5 separate regions of the Homo sapiens genome follow, and all the other regions are linked to region 2. Evidence: promoter capture Hi-C in 16 types of primary human blood cells and fetal thymus (Javierre and others, 2016). All regions are on one chromosome and are shown on one strand. Each heading gives the region's core, a stretch centred on a gene start or on the middle of the fragment in contact. The rest is flanking DNA. Distances are from core to core; before and after follow the strand shown. Region 1 has its middle 11 kb from the start of IL37. Region 2 holds the start of SLC20A1 (solute carrier family 20 member 1). Region 3 overlaps FBLN7 (fibulin 7). Region 4 has its middle 27 kb from the start of IL37. Region 5 has its middle 13 kb from the start of IL36A.

Region 1 (2,700 bases), core at 126-2,625, 280 kb before region 2:
CATGGCTGTGTTGGCAAATACACAAAACAGGCAATAAGCTGTATTTGGCCTTTAGGCTGCAGTTTGCCAACCCTTGCACTAACACAAGGAGCTTAAAGGTAGCGGTGGTGCTGTGCTGGAGCTAGCTTATATCAGCTTGCAATAGCCAATTGCTAACATCTCTTCCAAACTCTGTGTCTGTGCCTTCATGTTGGTAGTTTGAAATTGGCCATATTTGGAGTAGTTATGCCATGGAAATTGGCAAAAGCTGTATATCCACCATCACCAGCCCCCTGTGAACCAGCTGATCACATCACTAGGCATGTGTCCACCAGGATGAGAGTGAGGGTTGGGGATGGTTGAGCCAGACAGTGCATGGGAATGTGGGAAGAAAATATTAGATGTCAGACCCTGTTTTATTTAGCCCTTGTAAATTTTTGAATTCTGTGTAAGTTTCATAATGTCCCAATGCCTGCACTTCAAGATGTGTTCTAGAGTTTGTTTAATTGATTAGGATAACTGGGACCAAAAAAATGTTTGGAGTCTACCACTCCTAAAGCGATTTATTATATCCTATGCTGGATAGCTCATTCATGAACAGAGTGCCGGGTGAATAAGGGTCTTCTCTTTCTACACCCGAGACAGCCTTCTTCTTGTCCCCACCTGCCTCACCCTGCCCCAGGACCTCGGATGGGGTAGGAGGAGTGACCAGCTGTGAAAGGAGCTTCTGGTTGGAATGTTTCCTATGGGAGTTTCTGTCACAGATTAAATGCCCTGAGATCACCTTTTGAGAGACATTAAATTTCATGGGATGAACAGTTATCATGTTGGGTATTATGAGTTGAATTATGTCCCCCAAAAAGATATGTTGAGGTCCTATCCCCCAGTAGCTGTGAATGTGACCTTACTTGGAAATAAGGTCTTTACAGATACAGTTCAACTTAAGATGAAGTCATTCGAGTGAGCCCTAATTCAGTATGACTCTGTCCTTATAGGACAATCTGGACACAGAAACACAGAGAGAAGACAGTCATGTGAAGATGGGGGCAGAGACTGGAGTTTTGCTGCCACCAGCCAAGGAACCCTGGAGCTACCACAAACTGAAGGGAGGCCTGGAACAGATTCTCTCTCAGAGCTCTCAGAATGAACCAACACCTGGAGTTCAGACTTTGGCCTCCTGAACCAGGAGACGATACATTTCTGTTGTTTTAAGCCACCCAGTTTATGGTTCTCTATGGGAGCTCTAACAAACCAATACTTTGGGATTCTCAGGTGTGAGGCATAAGGGCCAAAACTTTTTCACTAAACATAAAGACCAATGATTACAATTACAGTTAGGAAAATGAAATTCAAAACCACCTGAGTTTATTTATACACATTTTCCAAAATGCATCTCCTTTGCAAGGGAAGTCATATTACTATAGAAATATGGAGAAGGCCATCATTTAAATAGAAGGCTTCCTTTCCTTTCTCCCTCCCTCTCTTTTTTCTTCCTTTCTTCATTTATAAAAATCTTATGGAGTTCCTACAAGTGCCAAGCACTGCAGTGGGTTCTTGGGATACATCACAGAGCAAAGAACTTGTGGGACATACATGCTAGTGGAAGACACAAACAATAAATGTAAGAAGAAAACTATACAGCATGTTAGAGTGAGAAAAATAAGACAGGGCAAAGGGGAGTCAGTAGTGCTGGGGTGAGAAAAGATTGCAGCATTAAATGGGGTAGCCAATTTCAAACTATCAACATCAAGGCACAGACACAGAGTTTGGAAGAGATGTTAGCAATTGGCTATTGCAAGCTGATATAAGCTAGCTCCAGCACACCACCACCACCTTTAAGCTCTGTGTTAGTGCAGGGGTTGGCAAACTGCAGCCTAAAGGCCAAATACAGCTTATTGCCTGTTTTGTGTATTTGCCAACACAGCCATGCTGTCTATGGCCTTCTTTGTTCTGTAACAACAGAGCATGTGGCAGGATATATAGAATCTGGCACTCTATGAAAAGTGCTGACTCCTGCTCTACAGGAGAAGAGACCACAGATTGACTTCAGCTTCCAAATACTCATCCCGGAGTCAGTCTAGAGCCTGAAATTTAGAGCCTGAAGCACAGTTTCCACCAGAGGGCTGCAATGCATGATAGTTGGGGTTTTTCACCTCTCACCCAAAAGCCTACTCAATGCGATCACCACAACCATGCCTTTCATGAAGTCAACAACAAACAGGGCCTTGTGCTTCCGTAAGGTGTTGATGCACTTGCTGTCTTGGTGGAGCCTCACAGGAAGCATGAGTGACCCATGTCATAGTGACTCACTATATCTCATCAGGTTGGAAGGGGATGGAGCAGGACCAAGCCCAGGCTGTCTGTGTCTCCATTTGGCCTGCATGTTCGGCCTCCTCAAGGCCATGGTCAGTAAGCCCCATCTCCTTTCTGCTAGTCTGTAAGGGAACCAGAGTCCTCACTGCCATGAGACAGCCCCGGCTCAGAGACTAATTTGAACAGCTGTGTCTTTGTTGTGAAAATAGTTTTGTGATATTATGAAGAAGACATGCCTTCCTCTCCAAAATATGGATGTCACCTGGCCACATTTTTTTTTCTTTTATATAGTGATACATAATATTTCACATATTTATGGCATACATGCAAGTACTCATTACATGCACGGAATGTGTAATGATCAAGGTAGGATGTTTGGAGTATTCCTCGCCTTGAATATTTACCATT
Region 2 (2,700 bases), core at 162-2,661:
AGCCACGAGTTGCCACACAGCAGAACCTGAAACATAGTAAAGTTTTATTAAGTAAATATCAAAATTCCATTATGTAAGTGGCACATTCAGAAAGGTTAATCGGAAAGGTTATGCACAAAAATGGAACCACCCATGATACAAATTTGCTCACCCACCACGAAGAGGACAAAACATAAAAAGAACTTACCAAACATAGCACTGACTGAGCCGGCCATCAGCAGCCCTTGAGTCGAGTTGTACATCTCCACGTCAATCAAGCCCTTCCGGATGGTTTCGCTCACTTTGGCCCCCAGTAAGACAGAGCCCACTGTTTCAAAGATGCTAGCTAGGATGCAGGCTTGCTTCAGGGTCACTACACCTGAGCCCACAGCTGTACCAAAAGAATTTGCTACATCATTGGCTCCCACGGAGAATGCCAAGACAAATGCAATAATGAAGCCCAGGATGAGCATCCATAGGTAGTCCACCAAAGGACCAGAAGCGGCGGTAGCAGCTGTAGTACTGGTAATCAGCGTTGCCATTCTCTGGAGTAGTGGTTGTTTAGTAAGAGAACTACTGAGCGCCTTTCAAGATGTGTAAACAGAATATGAGGTATCAAAAATGCTATAATAAATAATATATATTATATAAAATTAAATACTGTAAACTACGGCACAGAAACCGAGCTGGGGAGTTACTGCTATACGCTGCGTATGGGCATCTGTTGTCTGGGGTTTCTTTGGCTCAGGAGGGCTAAAAGCACGGAGCAGAATTCCATGGCGGAGAAGAGAAAGGACGCAAGTTCATCCTGCGGGGGAGGGGGGAAATAACAATAGCTGCGTGCCCCTGGGGGGCCAGTGGGGCACCCCGCTCTACCCACGCGCCCGGGGTCCCGCAATAGCCTCTGCCGGCTACTCCAGACCCCCATCCCCAGTAGGACGCGCGAGAAGGAGAGGCACGTGGCTCCGGGTCCTCCGCGGCCCGCGCGCGCCCAGCCCAGCCCCTGCGCTGCCAGCCCGCGCGCGCCCTCCGCGCGAAAATCGGAAAAGGGCCGTTCCCGCGCGCGCCGCCCGGGGACCGCCAAAAAGGCCCGCGGGCGGGCAGACGGGCGGAGTGGAGGCGGCCAGCGGCGAAGAGAGAAGCCAGCCGCGCCGCCCACGGCGTCCGCCTCCAGCGCCACGGCGTCCGCGCCCGGCCCCGGGGAGAAGAAAGAGCCTTTACGAGGCGGCGCCACTACTCACCAGGGAAAAGGGAGGGCGGAGCGGGAGACGAGGAGATCGAGGCGACAGCGGCTGGAGCCACGGGCACACGGCCCGGGTCGGCGGCACCGGGGACAGCTCAGCGGGACTCACGACCTTCCCAGGAAGCAGCCGCGGGGGTTTCAGCGGCCGAGAAGAAGAACCACGCAGAGAGCGCCGGCAGCCATCACTCCAGCGGAGCACCCCGCCGGCCCCTACTTATAGCCCGCGCAGCGACCCGCGTGACCCCGCCGCGCCTCGCGCCGGCCCCGAAGCCCCGCCCCCGGCATGACGCAGCCCTCCTCGGCCCGGCGTGCCCAGCCGGGTGAGCCCGACGGTGGCGCTCATTGGCCCGGCCCGCTTCGGCGGCCACGCCCCCAGCGGGGAGCCGGTCCACGTGGGGCGGGACAGCCCCCTCCCTGCGGCCTCGCCCTGGAGTCTCGGCACCGTCTGGCCCCGCCGGCTGATTACAGCCAGAGATCGAGGGGGACCTCGCTGTCCCCCTAGAGGCCGTCATGCGGGGTTACAGAGGCTGCGACCAAAGTCATTCCTAGCTCCTCTCTCGGGGCTCCGGAAAGCCGTCCGCGCCTCCAGCCGCACTTTCAGCGCACGCAGGACCTGCCGCGCCCGGTGGCCACACCCGTCCCTCTGCCGGGTGACGCTGCGGGAGATCTTGCGCCCTGGGGCTCCGGATCCAGTTCTGGCACGTTGTTGCACCTGTGACTTGTCCTTGGCCTGGCACTGTCCCTCGCCTGGGGGAAGCGGGGGGGTGGGGGGGGGATGCTCACGTGGTCGCTTTGCTCCCGCAGTCATGCACTTGGGTGAAAACAGACTGAAGAGTCACGGGAACCAGCTTGTCTCCCCAGTTATGGCGCAGAGCTGCAAGGATGGCTGTGGGTCATTAATTTCTCCGTGGCTGACCTGTGTTTGTAACGCCGCAGCTGTTGCGAGGGGGAAGGACACTGCTTCGGATTCAAATTCTGACTCCTTGCTGCAGTGTGTCACCTTGAGCCAGTCCCAGATCTCTGCGTTCTCACAATTGTAAAATGTTAACAGAGGCTGCCTACCTTGTGGCTGGAATTAAATGAATTAACGTGTGTGAATGTGACTAGAATTCAGTACATGTTCAGGAAAAGCTGATTTCCGCTTTGCTGTTACCGTGAATATTACTGTTTTAGGGTGTAGAAAAGGGTGGAAGGGGATGTTATTGCATCCTGGAAGCTTATCCTTTTGAGGTAAAGATTGATTTCTGGTCCCCTGCGTGGTATATAGTGTAGTTTTGACATTATTTAGATGTGTTATGCACATTTGGGTGTTGATTATATGGCTTACGATCAAGACTAACCAGTCATGCCGTGGGAGATTAAGGTCGTGGTCTCTTGTCAGGATTGTAGTGAGATTTAAAAATTCCAGCCAGAAATACCAGGCTTAGAATGCTCTGAAGCCCTCCCCACATTTTTGCCATCTCTAGCAGGAGGGCACT
Region 3 (2,700 bases), core at 102-2,601, 490 kb after region 2:
CTCCCCGGTGCTCATTGAGGGTGAGATGTGCCCAGCTTGCCAGTTACCACGGAAAAACCTTAAACATCTTCAAGACCAAGCAAACCAAGGCTGCATCTCCGTCCCAGGCGGGGAGGGAGACAGGAAGGCTCCAGGCTGACTTGCCGAGGGAAGGTGAGGAGGCTGTGGCCCATCCCAGCCTCCAACCTCTCTGGGGTGAGGCTGATGAAACAGAGCGTGGTACAAGGAAGCATCTTGCTGCTCTCGGCAAGCCAGCATGCCGGGGCTGGGGCCAGGGAGCCCGAGAAGCAGAGAGTATCCGTGCCTTTGACATGAGGTTTGAGGGTCTGAGCTGCAGCTGCTCCTAACAGGGCAGGTCCTGGATGCCATGCTCATCTGTCACCTGAGTTGGTATAGGCACAGGCATCACCGAGCTCCTTTGCAAAGCTAGATGATGAAGCTGGAATCCTTACATACCAAGACATGCACCCATGAGACCCACATTATGGGGACAAATGAGGTCATGTGAGGGGCCTGAGACCCCAGTGCCCCCTTTTTCCAAGCTGAGAAAGCTTTATCATTTTGCTTGATCATAAAAAGAAAGCATAATCTCTGCAAAACAATTCAAAATACAGAAAAATGCATTCAAACAAAGAACAAGTCCCACAACCAGAGACAACCACTGTTAACTTTTCGTTGGGTTTCAAGTCTTGGGTTAGACACAGGTGCTCCCTTGCACAGACGTCACCATGCAGCCCCACAGGATGCAGGCTCTATGTCAGCTCTTTCCCCTCAACACTGGCTGTGGCATCATTTTCATGTTAACGAGCAGAGCAACCGGCCTGTCTCTGAGTCTCAATTCTCATTCCTCAATGCACTCTTTTCAGTCTGGGCAGGGGGCTCCTTGCCCACAGCCACAGTTGTCTGCCATTCCCCTCCCAAACCCACCACCCTCCCCTGCTCTGAGCCATGCATGGAAGCAGGCCATTTCCTTCCATGCACATGTGGTCCTTGCTGAGGTCAGGCCAAGGGTGCTGTGAGGGGCTATGGGATGGACAGGAAGCCGGCCGGACCCTCAAGGGCTGTCCACCTGCTGCTCAGTGAAGGGCTGGCTTTTGGGTGAGGCTTTCCCATCTCAGGGTTCCAGGTCCCAACAGTGAAAAGCAACCCCAGGCTCCGCACAGCCCTCGAAGCTGACCTCCCACTCTCCAAGGTGGGAGTGGGTGAAGGTCAGATCCAGACAGGGCAGCAAGGGGAGGCCCCTGCACACCAGGAAGGACAGAGCGTGTTCCAGAGGCCGTCCCCTCGAAGCTGAGGAAGCTGCCATGTCTGGGTCCTCACTTTCCCAGGCCTCTTCCAGGGCTCTTGAGGCGCCCCGTTTTAAATCTTTTTCTTAGAGAGATCCCCTCAAATGGTATAAATTTTCATCCCTTCAAAACCAGTCGTGGCCCAACTTATGTCATTGACAATAAATAATGACGAATAGTTTCCATTTCTTTGAATTAATAACTTCTTTGAAATGGAACTAAGAGGAGACATGCAGTGAAACCTTCCATCTTTGAGTAGAAAAATATCAAGGTTTACCGTTTCTGTTATGAAACTCTTTAAAGGGGTGAGTACTTCATCTAACTTGACACCAATGGCAATGTTTGCAGAGAACCAGTTAGAGAAGGAACAACAGATGTCACCCCATCCAGGTTTTTCCAAGCTGGAGTAGAGGTGGCATGGATGGTTCTGGAAGACGCAGACCAGTGCTGAGAGCTGGGCGAGGGGAGGAGCTGGTTTTAAGGCTCTTGGAAGCAAGAAGGCCCATGGAACGCTCCATCCACCCCTGCCCTTCTCCGGGAATTCTTGTCCATCTCCCCTCCAGCCCCTTCTCGCACAGTGTTTACTCCGGCGGGTCCACGGAAGATTCCTCAGAGATCACCAGGCTCCCTTCCTCTGAGAACCAACTACCACTTGCAGGATGGCTGGGCCTCCAGAGACATTTCGTACCCCCAGACCCTACCTCCTGGTCCAAGGGTGGACACAGCCAAAGATGGGTGTGTGTCCCCCGGCTCACCCGGTCCCCTGCCAGCAGGCCTGACCCCTCTCATCCCATCCAGGCCCCCATGCTGTTTGGGCTCACTCCGAACCTGCTCTGAAGGCAACAGAGGGTACAGAGAAGCTTCAGGAGTATGTACGGAAACATGGGGACTGGTCCCTGGGGCTTCTGTTCTCCTGTAACCTGGCTCGATGGTCTTCCTCACAGTGACAGTCTTGGTACAGTGACACCTTTTGAGAGCCTCTTTGGTGACAATAGAGCTCCAAGACCTCCGATGGCCACGGATGACCCCTAGACTTGGAGGGGCCGTCTCCCACGCTGGTTTCTCCCAAGCCACAGCTATGCGTCACGTCAGCATTTTGTTAATGGGAACACAGATGTTTTGATGCCTTAGGTCTCTGAAAGGACCGAGCAACTTACCAAATGTGAGCCTGCTGGCCAAGGCTCGGAGTCTTCAGCGTCTGAGTCATGTCGAATTCGTGAATGTGCTCTCTACAGAACTTATTTTTATTTTTCAACTGAGCCAGAGGCGGGTTATAAATCCTCGACTACTCTTCATGCCAGAGACCTCTGCTCAGCACCCACATATATGAGGAGAGAAAGTGGGTGCTTCTGGAGGAAGTGAGAGAATTTCACTTGGGGAGTTGCCTGAGGCCTTTGGATTAGTCAGAACTCTC
Region 4 (2,700 bases), core at 73-2,572, 290 kb before region 2:
TCCCCCTGGTTTGCAAACTGTTCGCTGGACTAAAGTCCCCTTTCCCTAAATTCCTTTTCAGATAACTATCGTTCAATAACTTTAGTTCCCAAAGCCCACAAATGCTCATGTGACTCATGCTGTGGCTTAGCAGGCAGTATCTGGCATTGTTCCCAGCATGGTACCTGTGGTGGCCATACCACAAAATTCCCACAGACTGCATCAGATAAATGGAATAGTGCCATTCTAACAAGACGCCTCAGCACCTCAACCAAAGGGGAGGTCACCTCCTCCCAGACTTACCTATGAACATAGGTGTGCAGATGCACCCTCATCACCTTTTCCCCCACAGGAAGCATCACCCAGACCACTCTCGTCCTGTGCCTTTCTGTTTGTGGACTGTTACCTCTTCTACGTATAAGTTGCGACAGCTCTGCTGAGTAGCTGCAGGGACATTTTGATCTGGGAAAAAGTGGAACAGAACCCTTTCAGATATAAAGAGACTGAGAATCAGAGTGGCTGGAATTCTCTTAGGTCAGCATTGTGTTGGGATTTACGCTGTGTGTTCAATAAAACAACCACTGACTGGTCCTCAACTTCCATTGCCAACATCTATGTTCATAAGAGGCACTTATGAAGTCAATTGGCCAAATCTACAGCAATGGGGGACAAGACCAAAGGTTAGAGACACAGCCCTTGGAAATTATTCTGTAACAGCACTCTGCTGGGCCCAGCTGGGGCCGTGCATGTAGGAAGGAAGGGACGCACTGGTCCACATACCTGCAGGCATTCACCATCTCTCACAAAGGCCAGAATTGCTGCTTTCAAAAGGATGTCACACAAGCTAGAAAAATGAAATATTAAGACAACTCGCCCCCCAAAAACATTTCCATTTCTAAAGTTTTCAAATATACTAAAAGCCTTGTCCTGTGCCTACTCTTTAACCTAGAATCCTCTTTAGAGGCTATATTCTAAAGAAATATTCACCTCACTGCTGAGCTTACAGGGTGTACCTAATGTCCAACAATATGAAATCTCTTCAATGAATTGCAGCACGTCCATATATAACCCACATGGAAGCTGTCCTCTTTCCTCACCTTCGAACTTCCCATGCCAAAGAGGGACCTCTTGGACTCAAATACATCTTAGCAATATAGAAGATGCTGGAGACTTGTAGGAGAAGTGGAGAGGGTTTACAGTGTAGCCCCACAGAAAACAACTTATGACCCCATCAGTCACTTGTCCCTTTTTTCCATGCCTCAGTCTAGTCAGGAAACCACTAGATCCTGGATGGCTTCTTCTCCCTTCCCCTCCTTTCTCTTCTCCTCTCCCTCCCTTGCTCCTCCTTCCTCCATCACCCACTCCTTACTTCCAACCAAAACTTGACTAGCTCCAGTCTCATCCCTCCTTATTGAAAACTATTTTACTCAGCCCTCCTCCCCCACTCCTGCCCAATCTTTATTCCTTACCTACATCAGACTTCACCAAAACAAAGGCCAGGATAATAAACAGGACAAACTCTTTCAAACACATTTTAATGACCATATTTTGTTATTTTGGTACAATTTGAGGAGTCCCAATCCCCAGGGAAGACTAACAAGAAGTTCTCCTAACAAAGGTGGGTCTCCCCTTACTAAAAACTCCTGTAATGGCTGAAAAGAGCATGAGGTTTTCTGCATATCATTACACATTCAATAGAACGTCATGCAGCTGTTAAAAATGATCTGTAGAAGGCTATCTTGTGACAGAAAGGCATTGGAGATATACTGTTAGTGACAAAAATAGGTTATAAATGAATTTTTCCATGCATGCCTCTATATTTATAAATACACACACATAAAAGACAGGAAGGACAGACATTAAACATTCATAGTGCTTAAGATGATGCATAGTATAATAGTTAGGACCATGGCCTTTGGGACAGAAAACTACAGCCTCTCTCCCACTTATCAGCCATGGGACCTTGGGCAATTTGCTCAGCCTCAAAGCCCCTGTTCCTTTATCTGTGTGCTGGGGTTGTTGTAAGAGTTAAGTGCAATACACAGAGAGAGAGAGAGTACCTAACATGTATTATGTGCTCAGTCAATATGCATCATAGTACTCATTGTTACATATGTTCCTAAGTGCTTTATACGTTTTTTCCCTAAGTTGACCATCTGTTTTTGGCATTATGAAACATAATGATCCTAACAAATTAAAAATTAAAAACATTAAGGAATATTTGCCCAAAAAAAATAAAGAACATGAAATCATCAAGTAGCCAAGGGGCCATAGACAGAAGTAAGCCCTTGGTGGGGCTTAGTTGAGAGAAGTCTCCAGAAGGTCCTTCGTGTGTTAAAGAAGAGGGGTACAGGGAGGAGGTGGGGAGAGATGTTAACTGAGTCTAAATGAGCACCTGGAAGAAGAGATGGGACAGGCCACTTCTGCCTGGACTCCCTGATTGTTAAGAAGAATGAAAAAGAGCAGAAGTCTTCCCTGAGCCCAACTTCACTCCCTGACTTAACCTAGTCTTTGCCCCTTCCCTCTCACTCATGGCTACTTTCTGTGGTCACCTTGTTGTAGAAGTGGATGTGCAGCCACCTCATCTTTTTCTACCTCCTTCACATGTTTTAGATAATTTAATGTAGTAGAAGACGGTTACAGCAAAAAATTACAAAAATCAAAATATCTCTGCTATCTACTGTTGCATTTCTAACCATCCCAAAACAGTAGCTGAAAACA
Region 5 (2,700 bases), core at 183-2,682, 350 kb before region 2:
TAATACACTATTTCTCACATGTGCTGGGTAAGGCAGGGAGCCCAGATCTGTGTTTTCTGGGTTCCACATGCTTTCTATGAGATTATTATAAATTGGTGTTTTCATTTTGGTTATACTCTGTCATCATAGCCTCTTCTGTATCACCAGAATGAACACCTTACCCTTGAGTCCAGCCACATGATGTCAGGACTCATATTTGAGCTTTTGTTTGAGCTCACATTTGTGCCAAGTGAAAGTCCAAGGTATCAGTGACTGAACAAACAAAGTTTTTCACAGTAGAGAAAAGAGGTGGGAATACCAAATCATCACACAGCCTGTAGCAGGATGGAGATGCTGTAACACTTACAACCATAATCATGTCACAAGCTAATGTGTCATCAGCTTTTAATTAATAATATAAATTGGCAGATGTAACAACCTGCCACTATTTATTAGCATAGCATGGATATATGAGTGAATATCCAATGACTAATTCTTCTATTGGATATTCCAGAATTAATTAACTTTAACACTTATTTTAGTGTTGATTTTTATAAAACTGCAATGCCAACATTATATTCAATTGAGGAAGAAAACTTTAGAGGAGAGTGGCAGAGGAAGGAGGAAAGTAGGACTTTGCATTAATCATCCCACACAGAAACATCAATTTGATCAACTATTCATGCACAAAAAAAATCACAAGAGCAAAGGAAACCAGGTGAGAGATCACAGTACTTGATTTTAGCATCATAATAATAACAGATACATTGAAGAGAATAGGAAGGACAGTTTTACATTACCCACATCACCCCTTCCCTAACCCCAGGCAGTGCAGTATAGAGAGAGACATTATCTCTTGGGGAAAGAAAAAGGAATTAAGAGTAAGACTTCACCTTGGAACTCAGTACCATGCCTGCCACAGTAAAACCCACCACAGGGCAAACAACTTGATCCCTACCACCAGACTTATACCTGTAGATGAAGCCTCTAGATCTACCCCAGCACCAGAGAGGAACCTGTGGCACCAGTGAGATGGACTTCAGTTTGGTACAAGTCACTGCCAGCAGTGGGCAGGCCATAGTGGCCATGGTGTTGAGCATGCCCTATGTAGTGCTGTGCTGGTCTCAGAGACTCTAAGCTTTGGATGTGACCCAGTGCTACCTCAGCCTCTGCTGCCAAAGGATTCTGGCCATTGTGATCCTGGACTTAGAGCAGCTCCTAGTGCTGCAATTGCTGAAATGGTCACAGGCTTAGGGACCTCCCCAGTCAAACTTCTCTGAATCTCTGGACAGGCTTACTGCTAAAGGAAGCTCCCCAACAAAGCCAGATTGCAAAGACTAGATTAGGTACTTACATCAATGCATGGACATCTACAAATGGCTACAAGAATCACAATAAATCAGGGAATGTTCACTTCACCAAGCAGACAAAATAAGGTGCCAGTGACTGACCCTGAAGAAATGGAGATGGAAGAACTGCCTGACAAGGAATTCAAGATACCTGTTTTAAGGAAGCTCAGCAAACTTCAAGAACATACCAAAAAACAATTCAAAATTTGGTCAGAGAAATTTAACAGAGATAATGAAATAACTTTCAAAAACTCAAATAGAAATTCTGGAGCTGAGAAAAAAAAAATTAAAAATACAATGAGACCATCCACAGTAGAACTGAACAACAAGAGGAAAAGAATCTGTGAATTCAAAGACAGGGTAATTCAAAATATACAGTCAGTGGAGAAAAGGGAATAAAAATAAATGAAGAAAGCTTATAAAACTTATGGAGTAACATCAAAAGAGCAAATGTATGGGTTACTGGTACTCAAGAGGGAGTAAAGAAAGAGAAAGGAATGGAATAACAATGGAAAACTTTCCAAACCTGGAGAAAGATATAAATATCCAAGTACAGGAAGGTCAAAGATCTCTAATCAAACTCAACCCAAACAAGACTACTCCACAACATATAATCATCAAACTGTCAAAGACAAAAAGAGTATCCTGAAAGTAGCAAGGGAAAAGAAGCAAATAACATATAATGGTCTCTATATGCCCAACAGCAAACTTCTCAACAGAAACCTCATAGGCCAGGAGAAAATGGAATTTTAAAATGCTGAAGGAAAAAAACGTGCCAACCAAGAATATTCTAGTCAGCAAAGCTGTCTTTCAAAAATGATGGAGAGATAAAGACTTTTCAGACACACAAAAACTGAGGGAATTCATCGCCACCAAACCTGTCTTACAAGAAATGCTAAAGGGAGTTCTGCAAGATGAAAAAAAAGATGCAAATGAGTAACACGAAAACATCTGAAAGAATATAACTCGTTGGTAAAAGTAGGTACATAGTCAAACTCTGAATACTCTATTAACATAATGGTGGTATGTAAATCACTTATATCTTTAGTATAAAAGGTTAAAAGACAAAACTATTATAAATAATAACTATAACAAGTTCTTAAAGAATATGCAACATAAAAAGATATAAGCTGTGACATCAAAAATTCAAAATGTTGAGAGAGGAGTTAAATTAAAAAGTAGAAATTTTTGCAATCAAATTTAAGTTGTCATCAGTTTTAAATAACCTGTTACAACCATAAAAAGTCTTTGTAAGTCTCATGGTAACCACAAAGCAAAAACCTATGCACTAAAAATAATAATTAGGAATCAAAACATACGACTAAAGAAAATTAGCCACAAAGGAAGATAGTAAGAGAGACAGAAAGCAAAA

What was found. Contacts are between HindIII fragments. The CHiCAGO score rates a contact against its expected background, and 5 or more counts as called.
Region 1: a fragment that was not itself captured here is called in contact with the fragment with the promoter of SLC20A1 in region 2 in 4 of 17 cell types (M0 macrophages, M1 macrophages, M2 macrophages and 1 more); the score reaches 8.2 in M0 macrophages.
Region 3: a fragment that was not itself captured here is called in contact with the fragment with the promoter of SLC20A1 in region 2 in 1 of 17 cell types (naive CD4 T cells); the score reaches 6.0 in naive CD4 T cells.
Region 4: a contact is called between a fragment that was not itself captured here and the fragment with the promoter of SLC20A1 in region 2, in 2 of 17 cell types (M0 macrophages and M2 macrophages). The highest score is 6.5, in M0 macrophages.
Region 5: a fragment that was not itself captured here is called in contact with the fragment with the promoter of SLC20A1 in region 2 in 3 of 17 cell types (naive CD8 T cells, naive CD4 T cells and non-activated CD4 T cells); the score reaches 5.9 in naive CD8 T cells.

Annotation. Positions count from the first base shown.
Region 1 is chr2:112,920,626-112,923,325 of GRCh38, reverse strand. No RefSeq gene overlaps it. Among named protein-coding and RNA genes, the nearest start is that of IL37, 11 kb to the right of the region's middle. The HindIII fragment of the contact is 6,002 bases long and covers 1-2,700 here.
Region 2 is chr2:112,644,650-112,647,349 of GRCh38, reverse strand. It overlaps SLC20A1 (solute carrier family 20 member 1), which reads right to left and starts at 1,411. Exons shown (of 11, transcript NM_005415.5): 1 at 1,221-1,411; 2 at 188-787; 3 at 1-26. The coding sequence starts at 521. RefSeq lists silencers at 164-458, 920-1,749. The HindIII fragment of the contact is 3,268 bases long and covers 1-2,440 here.
Region 3 is chr2:112,153,002-112,155,701 of GRCh38, reverse strand. All of the region lies in intron 1 of FBLN7 (fibulin 7), which reads right to left. Among named protein-coding and RNA genes, the nearest start is that of FBLN7, 16 kb to the right of the region's middle. The HindIII fragment of the contact is 1,595 bases long and covers 554-2,148 here.
Region 4 is chr2:112,936,606-112,939,305 of GRCh38, reverse strand. No RefSeq gene overlaps it. Among named protein-coding and RNA genes, the nearest start is that of IL37, 27 kb to the right of the region's middle. The HindIII fragment of the contact is 3,789 bases long and covers 1-2,700 here.
Region 5 is chr2:112,991,554-112,994,253 of GRCh38, reverse strand. No RefSeq gene overlaps it. Among named protein-coding and RNA genes, the nearest start is that of IL36A, 13 kb to the left of the region's middle. The HindIII fragment of the contact is 626 bases long and covers 1,120-1,745 here.